Regions from separate parts of the Homo sapiens genome. Here regions 1, 2 and 3 are each linked to region 4. The links are contacts of gene promoters, found by promoter capture Hi-C in blood cells and fetal thymus (Javierre and others, 2016). All regions are on one chromosome and are shown on one strand. Each heading gives the region's core, a stretch centred on a gene start or on the middle of the fragment in contact. The rest is flanking DNA. Distances are from core to core; before and after follow the strand shown.

What was found. Contacts are between HindIII fragments. The CHiCAGO score rates a contact against its expected background, and 5 or more counts as called.
Region 1: a contact is called between a fragment that was not itself captured here and the fragment with the promoter of ZNF683 in region 4, in 3 of 17 cell types (naive B cells, M2 macrophages and M0 macrophages). The highest score is 7.8, in naive B cells.
Region 2: a fragment that was not itself captured here is called in contact with the fragment with the promoter of ZNF683 in region 4 in 2 of 17 cell types (M0 macrophages and M1 macrophages); the score reaches 5.4 in M0 macrophages.
Region 3: a contact is called between a fragment that was not itself captured here and the fragment with the promoter of ZNF683 in region 4, in 3 of 17 cell types (M0 macrophages, M2 macrophages and monocytes). The highest score is 6.3, in M0 macrophages.

What each region holds. Positions count from the first base shown.
Region 1 is chr1:26,139,566-26,143,558 of GRCh38, reverse strand. No RefSeq gene overlaps it. Among named protein-coding and RNA genes, the nearest start is that of FAM110D, 18 kb to the left of the region's middle. The HindIII fragment of the contact is 6,302 bases long and covers 1-3,993 here.
Region 2 is chr1:26,224,305-26,228,219 of GRCh38, reverse strand. LOC124903882 (a long non-coding RNA gene) reads left to right here and starts at 2,923. Exons shown (of 2, transcript XR_007065556.1): 1 at 2,923-3,010; 2 at 3,207-3,621. It also overlaps the pseudogene ZPLD2P. RefSeq lists enhancers at 2,998-3,057, 2,564-3,068, 3,069-3,574. The HindIII fragment of the contact is 963 bases long and covers 1,667-2,629 here.
Region 3 is chr1:26,197,418-26,199,955 of GRCh38, reverse strand. CATSPER4 (cation channel sperm associated 4) reads right to left here. Exons shown (of 10, transcript NM_198137.2): 4 at 2,173-2,270; 5 at 1,879-1,999; 6 at 1,537-1,670; 7 at 1-72. Among named protein-coding and RNA genes, the nearest start is that of CATSPER4, 8.1 kb to the right of the region's middle. RefSeq lists an enhancer at 1,485-1,984. The HindIII fragment of the contact is 8,937 bases long and covers 1-2,538 here.
Region 4 is chr1:26,370,893-26,375,037 of GRCh38, reverse strand. It overlaps ZNF683 (zinc finger protein 683), which reads left to right and starts at 2,288. Exons shown (of 6, transcript NM_001114759.3): 1 at 2,288-2,369. The HindIII fragment of the contact is 11,410 bases long and covers 1-4,145 here.

The sequences.
Region 1 (3,993 bases), core at 192-2,691, 230 kb after region 4:
TTCAATATCTTTGAAGGTCTGTTTCCACCGCCTCCCAATCCTGCTTGTTCTTTCTCATGGTCCCTTATTATCTTGTGTTCAGTTATTTTTTGTCACTAGCTGCTCATGTTGTTTGGAAATCTGTGGGAATTATTTTAGACTTGTGTTGAAGTTGAGTTTCTTCAGAGACAATTTGAAATGATTTCTGTCAATAATGTGCTAGTACTACCAACTCATATCACTTTAAATTTTAAATTCTCTGAGGATTTTAGGATTACATAGTAATATGATTTGACTTGGGATTTCATGAGAGAGCTGGCTTGAAAGTTATGAACTCTTTGTTTCTTGGAAAGTTATGAAGTTTTTTTTTTTTTTTTTTTTTTGAGATGGAGTCTTGCTCTGTCACCCAGGCTGGAGTGCAGTGGTGTGAGCTCAGTTCACTGCAAACTCTGCCTCCCGAGTTCAAGCGATTCTCCTGCCTCAGCCTCCCAAGTAGCTGGGACTACAGGTGTGCACCATCACTCCCGGCTAATTTTTGTATTTTTGGTAGAGGTGGGGTTTCACCATGTTGGCCAGGCTGGTCTTGAACTCCTGAACTCAGGTGATCCGTCTGCCTCAGCCTCCCAAAGTGCTGGGATTATAGGCATGAGCCACTGCATCCAGCCAAAAGTTATGAATTCTTTTTTTTTTTTTTTTTTGAGACAGAGTCTAGCTTTGTCACCAGGCTGGAGTGCAGTGACACAATCTCAGCTCACCGCAACCTCCGCCTCCCGGGTTCAAGCGATTCTCTTGCCTCAGCCTCCCGAGTAGCTGGGATTACAGGCACATGCCACCACACCCAGCTAATTTTTGTTTTTTTTTCAGTAGTGACAGGGTTTCGCTATGTTACCCAGGATGGTCTTGATCTCCTGACTTCATGATCCGCCCGCCTCGGCCTCCCAAAGTACTGGGATTGCAGGCTTGAGACACCGCGCCTAGCCAAAAGCTATGAATTCTTAAAGGTGATTTTATTTTCTTCTCTTTCCAGGGCCAGAGTTGATATAGGAAGATTTCATTGGACCTCCCATCTGAGCGCTATGGTTTATTTATTTATTTATTTATTTATTTATTTTCTGAGACAAAGTCTGGCTCTATTGCCCAGGCTGGAGTGCAGTGGCATGATCTTAGCGCACTGCAACCTCTGCCTCCTGGGCTCAAACCATCCTCCCACCTCAGCCTCCTGGTGGACACACGCCATCACACCCAGCTAATTTTTTATAGTTTTTGGAGAGAAGGAGTTTCATCATGTTGCCCGGGCTGGTCTCCAACTTGTAAGCTCAAGCAATCTGCCTGCCTCAGCCTCCCAAAGTGCGGGGATTACAAGCGTGAGCCACCACGCCCAGCCGATTTATTTTACCTTAGCTCTTACACTGTAGTTATGACCCTCCGGGGTCTCCTATTAAGAGTTCCCATTTTGGAGAAGCCTTGGGATTTATCTCCTGTCCCCCAGGTATCCTATGCAAACATGAAAGGAGGATGTTAAGGTCTCTGGGGTTTGGCAGGCATCCTGAGGGTTAAACACGATGTTGGTATTTACTTTCCTTTTTCCATAGTTCCTGGTTTCACTTCATTTTGGGGCTTATTTCTTACTTTCATGCAGCTCAGCAACATAATAAAAAAAATTAAAAACTTTATACAATAATTTAGTTTTTTATCATCAGAAGGATCACTCGGGTATCTAATTCATCATATTACTGGGAAATTTTTTTCTTTTTTTTGAGACGAAGTCTCACTCTTGTCCCCCAGGTTGCAGTGCAGTGGCACGATCTCGGCTCACTGCAACCTCTGCCTCCCGGGTTCAAGCGATTCTCCTGCCGCAGTCTCCCAAGTAGCTGTGATTACAGGCGCCTGCCACCACACCTGGCTAATTTTTGTATTTTTAGTAGAGACTGAGTTTCACCATGTTGACCAGGCTGGTCTTGAACTCCTGACCTCAGGTGATCCGCCCGCCTCGGCCTTCCAAAGTGCTGGGATTACAGGCATGAACCATCACACCCGGCTACTGGGAAAATATTAAAACACAGATTTCATTGTCATAACTCACATTTGTTTTATGATATTTTATAGTCTTTGCACATTTTAATTTGAGTTTCATACAGTATGGCTTGTGCATATTATGATTTATAATAATAACATAATTTAATTTTTGCAACTCATGAAGGTAGATATTATTATTCCTGTTTTACAGATGAAGAAACATAGGCTCCAAGTTTTTTTTTTTTTTTTTTTTTGAGACGGAGTCTCGCTCTGTCGCCCAGGCTGGAGTGCAGTGGCACGATCTCGGCTCACTGCAAGCTCCGCCTCCCGGGTTCATGCCATTCTCCTGCCTCAGCCTCTCCGAGTAGCTGGGACTACAGGCACCCGCCACCACGCCCAGCTAATTTTTTGTATTTTTAGTAGAGATGGGGTTTCACCGTGGTCTCCATCTCCTGACCTCGTGATCCGCCCACCTCGGCCTTCCAAAGTGCTGGGATTACAAGGTGAGCCACCGCGCCTGGCCTGGCTCCAAGTTTCAAGAGTAAAGCTAAGTGGCTCAACAGAGCCTTCAGCCATTGGTATTCATACTCCAATGTTCTTAGCCCTTGGAGGACAGGAACTGCCCCCCGCCATTAAGAATCTGATAAAAACTCTAGACTATCTTCCCAGAAATACGTGCATTGATACAAGGACACTAAAACTTCAGGAGGTTTGGGATTCTCTGAGATCTATCCATGGATCCTACAATAAAGACCGCTGTATATTACAGCGCAGAAAAGCTGAACAAAAAGACACGTTCATTTTTTAGCTTTGATCACAAATTCAGATTTTTCTGCCTGTCTTTTTTTTTTATCTTTCTTTCTTTTTTTTTTTCAGACAGTCTCGTTCTGTTGCCCAGGCTGAAATGCAGTGGTGTGATCTTGGCTCACTGCAACCTCCGCCTCCTGGGTTCAAGTGATTCTCCTGCCTCAGGATCCCAAGTAGCTGGGATTACAGGCACATGCCACCATGCCCGGCTAATTTTTGTATTTTTAGTAGAGACGGGGTTTCACCATGTTGGCCAGGCTGAACTCCTGACCTCAGGTGATCTGCTTGCCTTGCCCTCCCAAGTGCTGGGATTACAGGTGTGAGTCACTGTGCCCGGCCTGCGTTTTTCATAGAGACGGGGCTTTCTCATGTTGCCCAGGCTGGTCTCGAACTCCTGGCCTCAAGTGATCCGCCCATCTCAGCCTCCCAAAGTTCTGGGATTACAGGTGTGAGCCACCATGCCCGGCCTCTTCTGCTTGTCTTGAAGACCCTTTATTCATCCAACCTTTTTTCCTAACACACATTTCCAGCAGTTTTCCACCTAGGCAGCTGTGCTTGTGTCTGTGATGATTCAGATCATGAGCTCCAAGGCCAAGGCTCCCTGTGTTTCACATCCTGGCTCTAAAACTTTCTGCGGACCTTGGTGGGTTATCTGACCTCTCTGTGCCTCTGTTTCTTTATCTGTAAAATGGTGAAGAATGGTACCTACCTTGCAGGGTTGTGGGGGATTATGTGAGTTGATGCATGTAAGGCACTCAAAGTGGTCCCTGGCACAGAGAAATTGGTTGGTACAGTTTTGCTTTTGTTACTGTTCTCTCCTATATCGTGTGTCATTATTAGTTTCTTAGATCTCATCTGCAAACTGGGAGAGGATTCTTACAAATAAAATCGCTTTTAAAGGTATCTAACAGGCTGGGCACAGTGGCTCATGCCTGTAATTCTAGCACTTTGGGAGGTTGAAGTGGGAGGATTACTTGAGTCCAAGAGTTTGAGACCAGCCTGGGCAACAGGCTGTCTCAAAGACCTTGTCTCTACAAACAACAAAATTAACTGGGTGTAGTGGCACAAACCTGTAGTCCCAGCTACTTGGGAGGCTGAGGTGGGAGTATTGCTTGAGCCTGGGAGGTCGAGGCTGCAATGAGCTGTGATTGTGCCACTGCACTCCAGCCTAGGTGACACAGCATGACCTGT
Region 2 (3,915 bases), core at 899-3,398, 150 kb after region 4:
AAAGTGACTTCTCCCTGCCATCCCCAACCCCCTCAATATAAGATCTGGATTACACAGAAAGGAGTCAGACAAAGTAGAATTCCCGGCTGTTTATTAGCCATACCCTCTGCACCTCCCCATACCATACTAAGTAACTCAATCTCCCCCTAGAAGAGTTCCAGAGATAGGAAGCAAAGGTGGGATGAGGAAGCAGAGCCCAAGGCTGATCAGCCACACTCCTTACCAGATGTTGGTTTCATCTGCACCCCCAACCTCTCTGGTCCGTAACAATAAAACGGACTACTTGCTTTCCCTAAATCTTCCTCCACTCTACCCTTGCCTCAGGCGAGTAAACTAGAGGCCAAGGACTAGGGTTGGAGGAGGTATCAGGCTTCTATCCCAGCATCCAGCTTATTGCTATCAGAAGAAAGATGGCCATCCAGGCTCCTGCAGGAAAGAAAGAAATGATTATAAAACAGAATTAAGTGGCATTGAGAGCAGGGGAAAGTTTTTAGGCTTAGATATTCCCCTTTAGGGAATTATTTAGAAATCCATTCATTCATTCAACAAGCTTTCTTGGGACTGACTGTGTGTAAGTTAAATTGGGGGTGGGGAGGATGGGGATGAAAGGCACTGTCTAGTTCAGTGTGGACCCTACTCAGCCACCTTCACCTGTCCTTGTTACCTGTCTGGCTCTGTATCTTGAATTTTCTTTTTTCTTTTAGAGACAGGGTCTCACTCTGTCTCCCAGGCTGGAGTGTGGTGGCGCCATCATAGTTCACTGCACCCTCAAACTCCTGGTCTCAAGCGATCCTTCTGCCTCAGCCTCTCAAGTAGCTAGGATTACAAGCATGTGCCATGATGCCCAGCTAATTTTTAAATTTTTTATAGAGACAGCATCTTGCTGTGTTGTCCAGGCTGGTGTCAAACTCCTGGCCCCAACCACTCCTCCCACTTTGGTCTCGCAAAATGCTGGGATTACAAGTGTGAGCCACTGCCTGGCCTGTATCTTGAATTTTCACCTCCTACCTGCTTGCCCCTGTATCTTGAATTTTCAATCATTTCTGGATAGACTCAGGTTCTGATGAAGGATAAACCACCAGCCCCACAATGACAAGTGCCATGTACTGTTGAGACCCAAGAAGCTGAGACTCAAATAAGTTAACTGCCGGGCATGATGGCTCACACCTATAATCCCAGCATTTTGGGAGGCTGAGGCAGGCAGATCGTCTGGGGTCAGGAGTTCGAGACCAGCCAGGCCAACATGGTGAAACCCTCCCTCTACTAAAGTACAAAAATTAGCTGGGCATGGTGGTGCGTGCCTGTAATCCCAGATACTCGGGAGGCTGAGGCAGGAGAATGGCTTGAACCCGGGGGGCAGAGGTTGCAGTGAGCTGAGATCACGCCACTGCACTCCAGCCTGGGCATCAGAGTGAGACTCTGTCTCAAAAAAAAAAAAAAAAAAAAGAAAGAAAAAAAAAAAGGTTAACTGACTTCTCTCAGCTCGTATAGAGTGGAGCAGAAACAAAATCCAAAACCAGCACCTGCCAAGACCCAGCAGCGTGTATCCTCAGACCCTGGTGCAACCATCAGAACTTCATCACAGCAATATCTTTGTACCAACCTGCCGAGCTTCTGCTGCTGGAGGCATTGGACTATGAAACCACATAGAAAGAGAGATCAAGCTTAAGGTGCCATTCTGGCAGGACAAGGCTAGCATTCTCCCATTATTTTATCAAGACTGGGCAAAGGGCTTGGTCTCTTTGAAACTGAGATTCAGAAGGGTGTGATGATGGACCTCCTGCCTCTAATAAGAATGGACTTAGTAGAAGATGGGCTTTCCCAAGAGGGTTGGAGTTTTTGTTTTGTTTTGTTTTGTTTGTTTTTGCTTTTTGAGACGGAGTCTTGCTCTGTCGCCCAGGCTGGAGTGCAGTGGCAAGATCTTGGCTCATTGCAAGCTCCGCCTCCCGGGTTCACGCCATTCTCCTGCCTCAGCCTCCCGAGTACCTGGGACTACAGGGGCCCGCCCCCACGCCCGGCTAATTTTTTTTTTTTCCTGTATTTTTAGTAGAGATAGTGTTTCACCTTGTTAGCCAGGATGGTCTCGATCTCCTGACCTTATGATCCGCCCACCTCGGCCTTCCAAAGTGCTGGGATTACAGGCGTGAGCCACCGCGCCCGGCGAGGGTTGGGGTTTTGAAGGACCATTATGGAATAGAAAGAAGGGAGAGACTGTTTCTAGATCATTAAGGAAGATTTACCAAAAAAGTTTGGCACGAGGGACAGCCTGGGAGAAGAGTGATCTGGTGTGACAGGAAAGGTGAGAATGGAAGGAGACAGGCAGAGAAGGCTCAGACTTGAAGTTGACTGAGTGAGACCGGTGAGGAGAGCAGAGGGGAAGCCGAGGAGGACATGGGCTTGGGGAGGAGACTTGCATTTAGGGAAGAGTGGAGGGCATGAAGGAAGGAGGGGACAGAGCAGGTCGGTAGGAGGCTCTGGAAGAGGAGTCAGGGAGGCCCCAGAAATGATCCATTTACCGCTTATTCGGATGGGCCCGAATGCTATCCAGCTGCCGCCGCGCTCCAGGCCCTCCCGCGTTCGGATCTCCCAGGAGCGATCCCTCCCAGGCGAGTTCTTCTGACTACAAGCTTGTGGGCAACGCAAGCACAAGGGTAGCGAAGCCGGCCAGGCGAGGACTTTGCCCAAGACCCCAGGGTAGCCCCACCTCCCTCCCCGCCCCAAGTGAGTTCACCATCCACAAGACCTAGGTCTTCAAAATCCCGCCCAGTCTTCCACAAGCCCCGCCCCCGGTAGGACTGGCCAGTCCCCAGCACCGCAGTCCCCCAGGTCCCGCATCAGCACCGCTTCCGTGAAGACGGCGCAGCTGGGAGTCCGGCTACCCAGCCTGCCCGGCAGGAACTGCTTTGCAGGCAAGGCTGCGGCGGCTGCGCAGGAGGTCCCGGGGCTGCCCACTCACTGGTTGGCATGGGCGTCTTGCCCGCGTGTCACACAGGGTCACTCGGCCGTGCAGGTACAGTGTATCGCTGGTCGAGAAGCGGATCAGGTTGAAGGCCAAGGTCACCTCCAGAGAGGCCCCGTTGGCCCGCAGGCCCTGGAGCAGCCGGTTGCTGACGGGGCAGCTGTGGGGAGAGGCAGCGTCAGGGGCCCGCGGTGCCGATGGATGAACACCGAGCACCGTTGCCCACTTTTTACGTTTGCTTGTATAGGTGCAGATGCTGGTTTCATGCTGAGAACTTTACATGGATTGTTTCATTTCATCCTCACCGAACCCGTGAAGAAGACAATACTTTTGCCCCCCACCACCCCTTTTTTAAAGATGAGGAAACTGAGGCTCAAACTGAGGTTCAAAGAGCGTTGCCCAAGGTTCTGCAGGGAGCAGCCTGGCCCCAGCGCCCGCCCACACCCTTAATCACTGGGTTCTATATCCTCCTGACAAGGGAGGAATGACAGGCGAGGACAGGTTTGGCCGTGGTGTGTTTCAGAGCCTGGACTCTGGAGACTGATGGTGTGTCCTGGTTGAAGTCCCCTAAACTCAGAGTCTTCTCTTGTTCTGTCAGCTGTACAGTGGGGGAAATAATACTTCATAGGGTTGTTTGGAGGAATAAATAAGGTAATAAATGATTCCCTGTGCTCTGTGAAGCCTTGTTACTAAAATATGACCTAGAAGTCAGGAGACCCAACTCCTTCCCAAGAACGTTGAGGACGAACTTGAATTTACTGTCTCTGTGTTCCCAACACTTAGCAAGATCTGCAACTTATTGTGTGAACTGAGCCTCAGTTTCTCTATAAAGTGGGAATGAAAATATAACTATCTCGGCCGGGCGCGGTGGCTCACGCCTGTAATCCCAGCACTTTGGGAGGCTGAGGCGGGTGGATCACCTGAGGTCAAAAGTTTGAGACCAGCCTGGCCAATAT
Region 3 (2,538 bases), core at 1-2,500, 170 kb after region 4:
GCACCGATGGTGATGAAGATGGTAAAGTAGATGGCACCCCCAATCTCCATTGCATATTCCCTCTTCTCTGTCCTGCAGATGGCAGGCAGGGGCCCCATCATTTCCCTGGCCCTTCAAGCCTGAGTTTCCTTGTCATTGAAATGGGAAAATCATCCCAAGGCCTACTAGAACTTCTGCCTGTGTCACTGCTGTTGTGCAGATCCCATTCCCTACTCCTGTCTCAATAGCTGCTCTCTACTAAGCACCTACTGTGCTGCCAGACAGTGAGCTGATTCTCTAACCAACCCTGCAAGGTGGGGACGTGCACATCAACACTATTAAGTTTAATCTATTAGCTACACTCCTTTTTTTTTTTTTGAGATGGAGTCTCGCTGTGTTGCCCAGACTGGAGTGAAGTGGCGTGATCTCGGCTCACTGCAAGCTCCACCTCCTGGGTTCATGTCGTTCTCCCGCCTCAGCCTCCCAAGTAGCTGAGACTACAGGTGCTTGCCACCACGCCTGGCTAATTTTTTTTTTTTTTTTTTGAGACAGAGTCTCACTCTGTCACCTAAGCTGGAGTGCAGTGGCGTGATATGGGTTCACCGCAACCTCCGCCTCCCAGGTTCAAGCGATTCTCCTGCCTTAGCCTCCTGAGTAGCTGGGATTACAGGCGCCCCACCGTCCGGCTAATTTTTGTATATTTAGTAGAGACGGGGTTTCACCTTTTTGGCCAGGCTGGTCTTGAACTCCTGACCTTGTGATCCACCTGCCTCAGCCTCCCAAAGTGCTGGGATTACAGGTGTGAGCCACTGCACTGGGCTTTGTTTTTGTATTTTTAGTAGAGATGGGGTTTCACTGTGTTAGCCAGGATAGCCTTGATCTGACCTCGTGAGCTGCCCACCTCGGCCTCCCAAGGTGCTGGGATTACAGGCGTGAGCCACCGCGCCCGGCCCCGGCCAGCCTGATTTTTATCCACTACCTATGCCATAATGGAGAATGACTGTAGAAGCCCTTTATCTACTGGGCTTCTATACTCACATGTAGAAGATAAAAAGAAATCAGTTAAGGGGTCCCACTTTCTGGAATAAACTGGAAAGAAATAGGGCTTAGACTTAATAGAAAAGAGGTAAAGAACAGAACACAAAAATGAATGTGGGCAGTGGGTTTAAGAATGAATGAAATGAGACCTGAAGTTCCCAGGAGTTCAGGCAGTTTGGTGGGCTCCAAGGTGGGCTGGGAGGTTGCTCTGTAACCTGAGGCATAACTGCAGACCTGCTGCCTTATCCAAGGCCAACTACCCAGCTGGTTAGCATGATGGGAGAGGTCCCCATTACAGGGTGGGAATGGGACTCTGAATATATGGAGATTCAAGGGTGACAAGGCTTCAGGTATCACAAGTCCAGGTATTTCCTTTTCCTCTGTTTAAAGACCTGGGAACCCCCACTTCTACTGGGCCATCCTCATCCCAATCCCTGGAGCTCCCACTCTCAGCCTGGAGCTCCACCGGCTACCCTGCCCCATAGGTGGGATGAGGCTGGAAGTCCCACTGGCACTCACTGGAAGTCACTGTAGATGTCCACCCAGCCGTCCTGGGTGATGCAGATGAAGAGGGTGTACAGCGCAACCTGTATGTTCTGGAAATGCTTGGGCACGAATGCACCAAAGAGTGTTACTCCAAACACGGAAAAAACCTGTCAGAGAGAAAAGAGCCCCACCCCGACTTCACCAAAGGGCCTGGAAATAGGACACACAAATGTCATGTAAATGAACGCTGCTGAGGAAATCACAGGGATTCAGGCCCACAGGCCTCTCTGCTTTTCCAGACACCCCTCTATTTGCAATGACCCAAGGGCCCTGTTCAGGGAAGGGAAACAGCTGGGGGCGGGGGCAGGCACTGACCAGCATGAAGAAGAGGATGAGGACCATGATATTGGCCATGTCAGGCACCGACTGCAGGATGACGCGGATGATCCGGGCGAGGGGCTCCACCGCCATGCACACATGCACCAGACGAAGCGCCCTGTGGCAGAGCCTGTCAGGGGTGCCCCTAGGCCCTTCCCAGCCCCTTCCCTCCTCATTACCCCCACCAGCTGCCCAGAGAGGCAAAGCTGATCTCCAGCTGGTCGTTATCCCCCCATCTCATTCCTGGGTTCCAGATAGGTCCCCCTCATTTCTCCAGAGCTCCCCGCTCACCTGAGAGTGTAGTTGATGGAGGGAATATTGATTTCATTAATGAAGAACCGCAAGAGCAAGATAAAGACGATAATGAAGTTGAGGATGTTCCAGCCGTCCTGGGGAGTGGGCCAGCCCCAGTGGGGTCTGTCAGGCCCAGCCCATGGGGGCATCCTAGGTCTGCCCTCCCCACATCCCAGGGATGAGGGCTCAATGTCCCTCTCAGAGCAGGGCCAGTCAGCTGCCATCCACTGCTGTTACCCTGCCGCCCCCCAAACAAGCCACAAAACACACGTGTACTCTCTGTCCCATACATGTGTCAATAGCCAAATGCAGTCTCAGAGACACACAGCAAAGACCCTTACAGATACATGGCTGGTCCCTAAG
Region 4 (4,145 bases), core at 1,039-3,538:
GTTGGTTCATAGAAAAATGTCTGGAAGGGTAAACACTAAACAATTCACATTGACCACTGGGAAATTGCGAAGGAGGAGGAGCTTCCATTTTTCGTTTTTACATTTTCTGTTGTTTGAAATGTTTACCACTAGTATGTATTATTTTGCAACTAACGAAAGGAAGAAGAAAGTGTGCAGTGAGCACCGGGAGCCCAAGGACCCAGCCCCTCCAGCTCTTGTCCCCTAATGTGGAGGCACCTCCTCTTCAGAGGCCTCCCGAATGTGCCCCTTGCACCTGGAGTCAGCTCCCTACTCCCCCTCTGTCCGCACTTCCCAAACCCACTCTGGTGATCATGGGCTTTCCTTGGCTTGGGTCTCTGGTCTGGGTCAAGGCATCTGCTCAGGTTCCTCAGTTAGAAGACCATGGTCCTCCCTCTGTGCTACCTCCCCAGGGCATGTGGGACAAAGTGACATCACATTTAGGCCTGTGACATCACAGGGCATGGATGACACAAGACAGATGATCTGGGAGATGACAGCAAGGAAGGGCTTGGCAGGCAGAGGCTTCTCCACGTGGGAACCTGAGGGAGTCTGTCCTCAGCCCACCTCCTGGGGCATTTCCTAGCCAAGCCAGGGAGCTTTCAGGATTGGAGACCTGGAAATCTCCAAGGCCATTTCCTTTTTTATTTTTTTCTAACAGAGAGGTTGTGCAAAGTGTTCTGAGAGCTGGGAGCAGAGTGTGATGCCAGGAGGGAGCACAGCTGGCAGATGGAAGCCAAAGGTGTGTGGGGAAGTGCCTTGGAGGGGAGGAAACTTCACTCGGTGCCCCTCACTTCCCTGTGATTCCCAGCAAGACAGCAGGGGAGGCGGGCTTGTGGCCTGGGGGTCTGAGAGGGCTCTTCCTTTTAGGGAGTAGAGTTTTGGTGAACTAAGCCCCTCCATTACGCTGAAGGATACTGAGGGGGCCACTGAGGAGTTGGGGGAAGGACTGGGAACAGCATGTGGGAAGAGAGAGCAAGAAAGAAAGAAATGAGGGGGTGGCTGTCGTAGTGGGGGAAGCTGACATGGCCAAGAGATGGCAGAGTCTGAGGTTTACCACTAAAGAGCTCTTGGCTACTTGTTGTGTGACTCTGGATGAGCTGCTAATAATAAAATCCACCACACAGGCTTATTGTGAAGACTAAATGAGATAAAGTTTATGAAGCCCCTAGCACAGTGCCAGACACAGCAAGAAAGCTGTTTGTAAAGGTGGCTATTTACTCTGTTCCTTGGACAATTCCAGCTGGAACCCTGTTACTTTATCTTCTATTCTGGGCATGTATAATGCAGAATTATCAGTTGTAAGCTACAAAAACCATTTCAGGAGGAGTTAAGCAGAAGGAATTTGTTTAAAAGATGTTAGAAAAGCTCGCAGGAGGTCTGAGAAGGCTGGAGAGCAAGGCTTGGAGAATAGGATGGATCAAGGGAGGCTGGAAGTAGACAGGACCATGGCCAAATATCACACCCCAGGACCAGCCCTGCACAGATTCTGCAGCCTCCCCTGAACCCCCTTCTTTCCTTCACTGCCCTGGAAGCCGGATGTGGTACCACAGCCTTTGTTGTAGAGAGGAGTTTCCACAGACCTGCCACCTCAGGACCAGTGGCTTTTTTTATTGTATTTTATTTTATTTTGAGATGGAGCCTCACTCTGTTGCCCAGCCTGGAGTGTAGCAGAGCCATCTCAGCTCACTGCAACCTCCGCCTCCCGGGTTCAAGCAATTCTCCTGCCTCAGTCTCCCAAGTAGCTGGAAATACAGGCACGTGCCACCACACTTGGCTAATTTTTGTATTTTTGTAGAGATGGGGTCCCACCATGTTGGCCAGGCTGGTCTTGAACTCCTGACCTCAAGTGATCTGCCCGCCTCGGCCTCCCAAAGTCCTGGGATTACAGGCGTGAGCCACTGCGCTCAGCCAGTGGCACTAGCTTCTGATCTGCTAGTCTACTGGGCTGCAGTGGAGATTAATGGCTGCTTGGGGCTTTTGTACCCTGGGCCAGACTCACGCACACCAGAATTTGTGTGAGGCCACAGGGGTTATGCCTCTTCTCATGCTCACAAGACTCGGCTTGGCAAGGAAATGTCCCAGGAGGTGGGCTAAGACAGACTCCCTCAGGTTCCCACATGGAGCAGCCTCTGCCTGCCAAGCCCTTCCTTGCTCTCGTCTCCCAGATCATCTGTCTTGTCAGCCTCCATGCCCTGTGATGTCACAGGCCTAAATGTGATGTCACTTTGTCCCACATGCCCTGGGGAGGTAGCACAAAGGGAGGACCATGGTCTTCTAACTGAGGAACCTGAGCAGATGCCTTGACCCAGACCAGAGACCCAAGCCAAGGAAAGCCCATGATCACCAGAGTAGGTTGGGAAGTGCGGATAGAGGGGAAGTAGTTTTTATTTTTTTCTAACAGAGAAGTTGTGCAAGGTGTTCTGAGAGTTGGGAGCAGAGTGTGATGCCAGGAGAGGGCAGAGCTGGCAGATGGAAGCCAAAGGTGTGCGGGTCACCCCTTCTGGGTGGGGACATCTGATCGACCTAGTCCATGTATGCCTGCATGAAGTGCTGGTGAGGGAGGTTGGAATTAAGTATTTGGCCATTTCGGCTTTTATAATGGGAGGTACCTTTTGCCTCCCTCAAGACTCATGTAGGGGAAAAGTTTCAGAGGCTGGGCGTCCAAAAAAACCTGACAGATGTCTACATGGAAAACCAAAATGAGTAGACAGAGGACCCTGTCCTTGAGATGCTCACAAACATGTTGGGATCAGTTATGTGGAGGATGAGTCACAGCCCTAGGGGCTGAGCTGGCAGAGAAACCCCAGGAACATGCCCCAGCCCATGGTGCACAGCCTGAGATGTCCCTGTATATTCTGGGACACCAGGGTGGCGTGGCTGGGGTGCAGATTGATGGCTGGTTGGGGCTTTTGCACCCTGGGCCAGACTCACGCACACCAGAATTTGTGTAAGGCCGCAGGGGTGATGCCTCTTCTCATGCTCACAAGAATAATGACATTGCTCAGGCTAAAAAGCCACTTTCTGGCCTATGAGGTCTCCCTTTTTGTATCTAGACATGTCTTTTCCTTATTTATTAACTTTTTTTAAGACAGGGTCTCGCTCTGTCACCCAGGCTGGAGTGCAGTGGCATGATCTCAGCTCACTGCAGTCTCGACCTCCCTGGCTCAAGTGATCCTCCCACCTCAGCCTCCTGAGTAGCTGGAACAACAGGCATGCGCTACCATGCCTGGCTAATTTTTGTATTTTTTGTAGAGATGGTGTTTCACCATGTTGCTCATGCTGGTCTTGAACTCCTGGGCTCAAGCAGTTGGCCCACCTCAGCCTCCCAAAGTGCTGGGATTACAGATGTGAGCCACCACACCTGGCCTAGTCATGCCTTACACCCATTTTGCTATGTCTATTTTTTTTTTTTTTAAAGAGACAGGGTCTTTCTCTGTCACCCAGGCTAGAGTGCAGTGGCAATATCCTAGTTCACTGCAGCCTTATATTCCTGGGCTCAAGTGATCCTCCTGCCTCAGCCTCCTGAGTAGCTGGGACCAGAGGTGCAAGTCACCATGCCCAGCTAAGTTTTGTATTTTTTGTAGAGATGAGGTCTTGCTTTGTTGCCCAGGCTGATCTCAAACTCCTGGGCTCAAGAGATGGGTCTGCCTTGGTCTCCTGAAGTGCTGGGATTACAGATGTGAGCCACTTCACCTGGCCATGTGCTTGAATTATCTTTTGCCTCTTGGGGCCTCTAGATTAGAGGATAGAACTTTCCAGGGTCAGGAGATCTGAGATGGGACTTGGAGGAGGAAAACGTGTTTGCTGTATCTCTGTGAGATCAGCTGCCTTCTCTGTCCTCTGTCTCATTCCATATCCTTCTATGTTGCCTGTTCTTGTCTCTGCCTGTTCCTGTCCCTACCTGTCACCATCACTGTCTCCCTGTCATCATCAATGCCTATCTTCATCTCAGCTTGGCTCCCCTCCACAGAAGGCTCCCCTGTTCAGCCTTTGAGCCCTACTCTGTCCTCCCGTCCAGCCATCTGGGTACTTTGAGAACAGAAATAACAGCCCGCCCCCCTCACACACACATCCTGAAATTCCAGTAGCCCCAGTTCACTGCAATCCACATCAGCAGGTTGTCC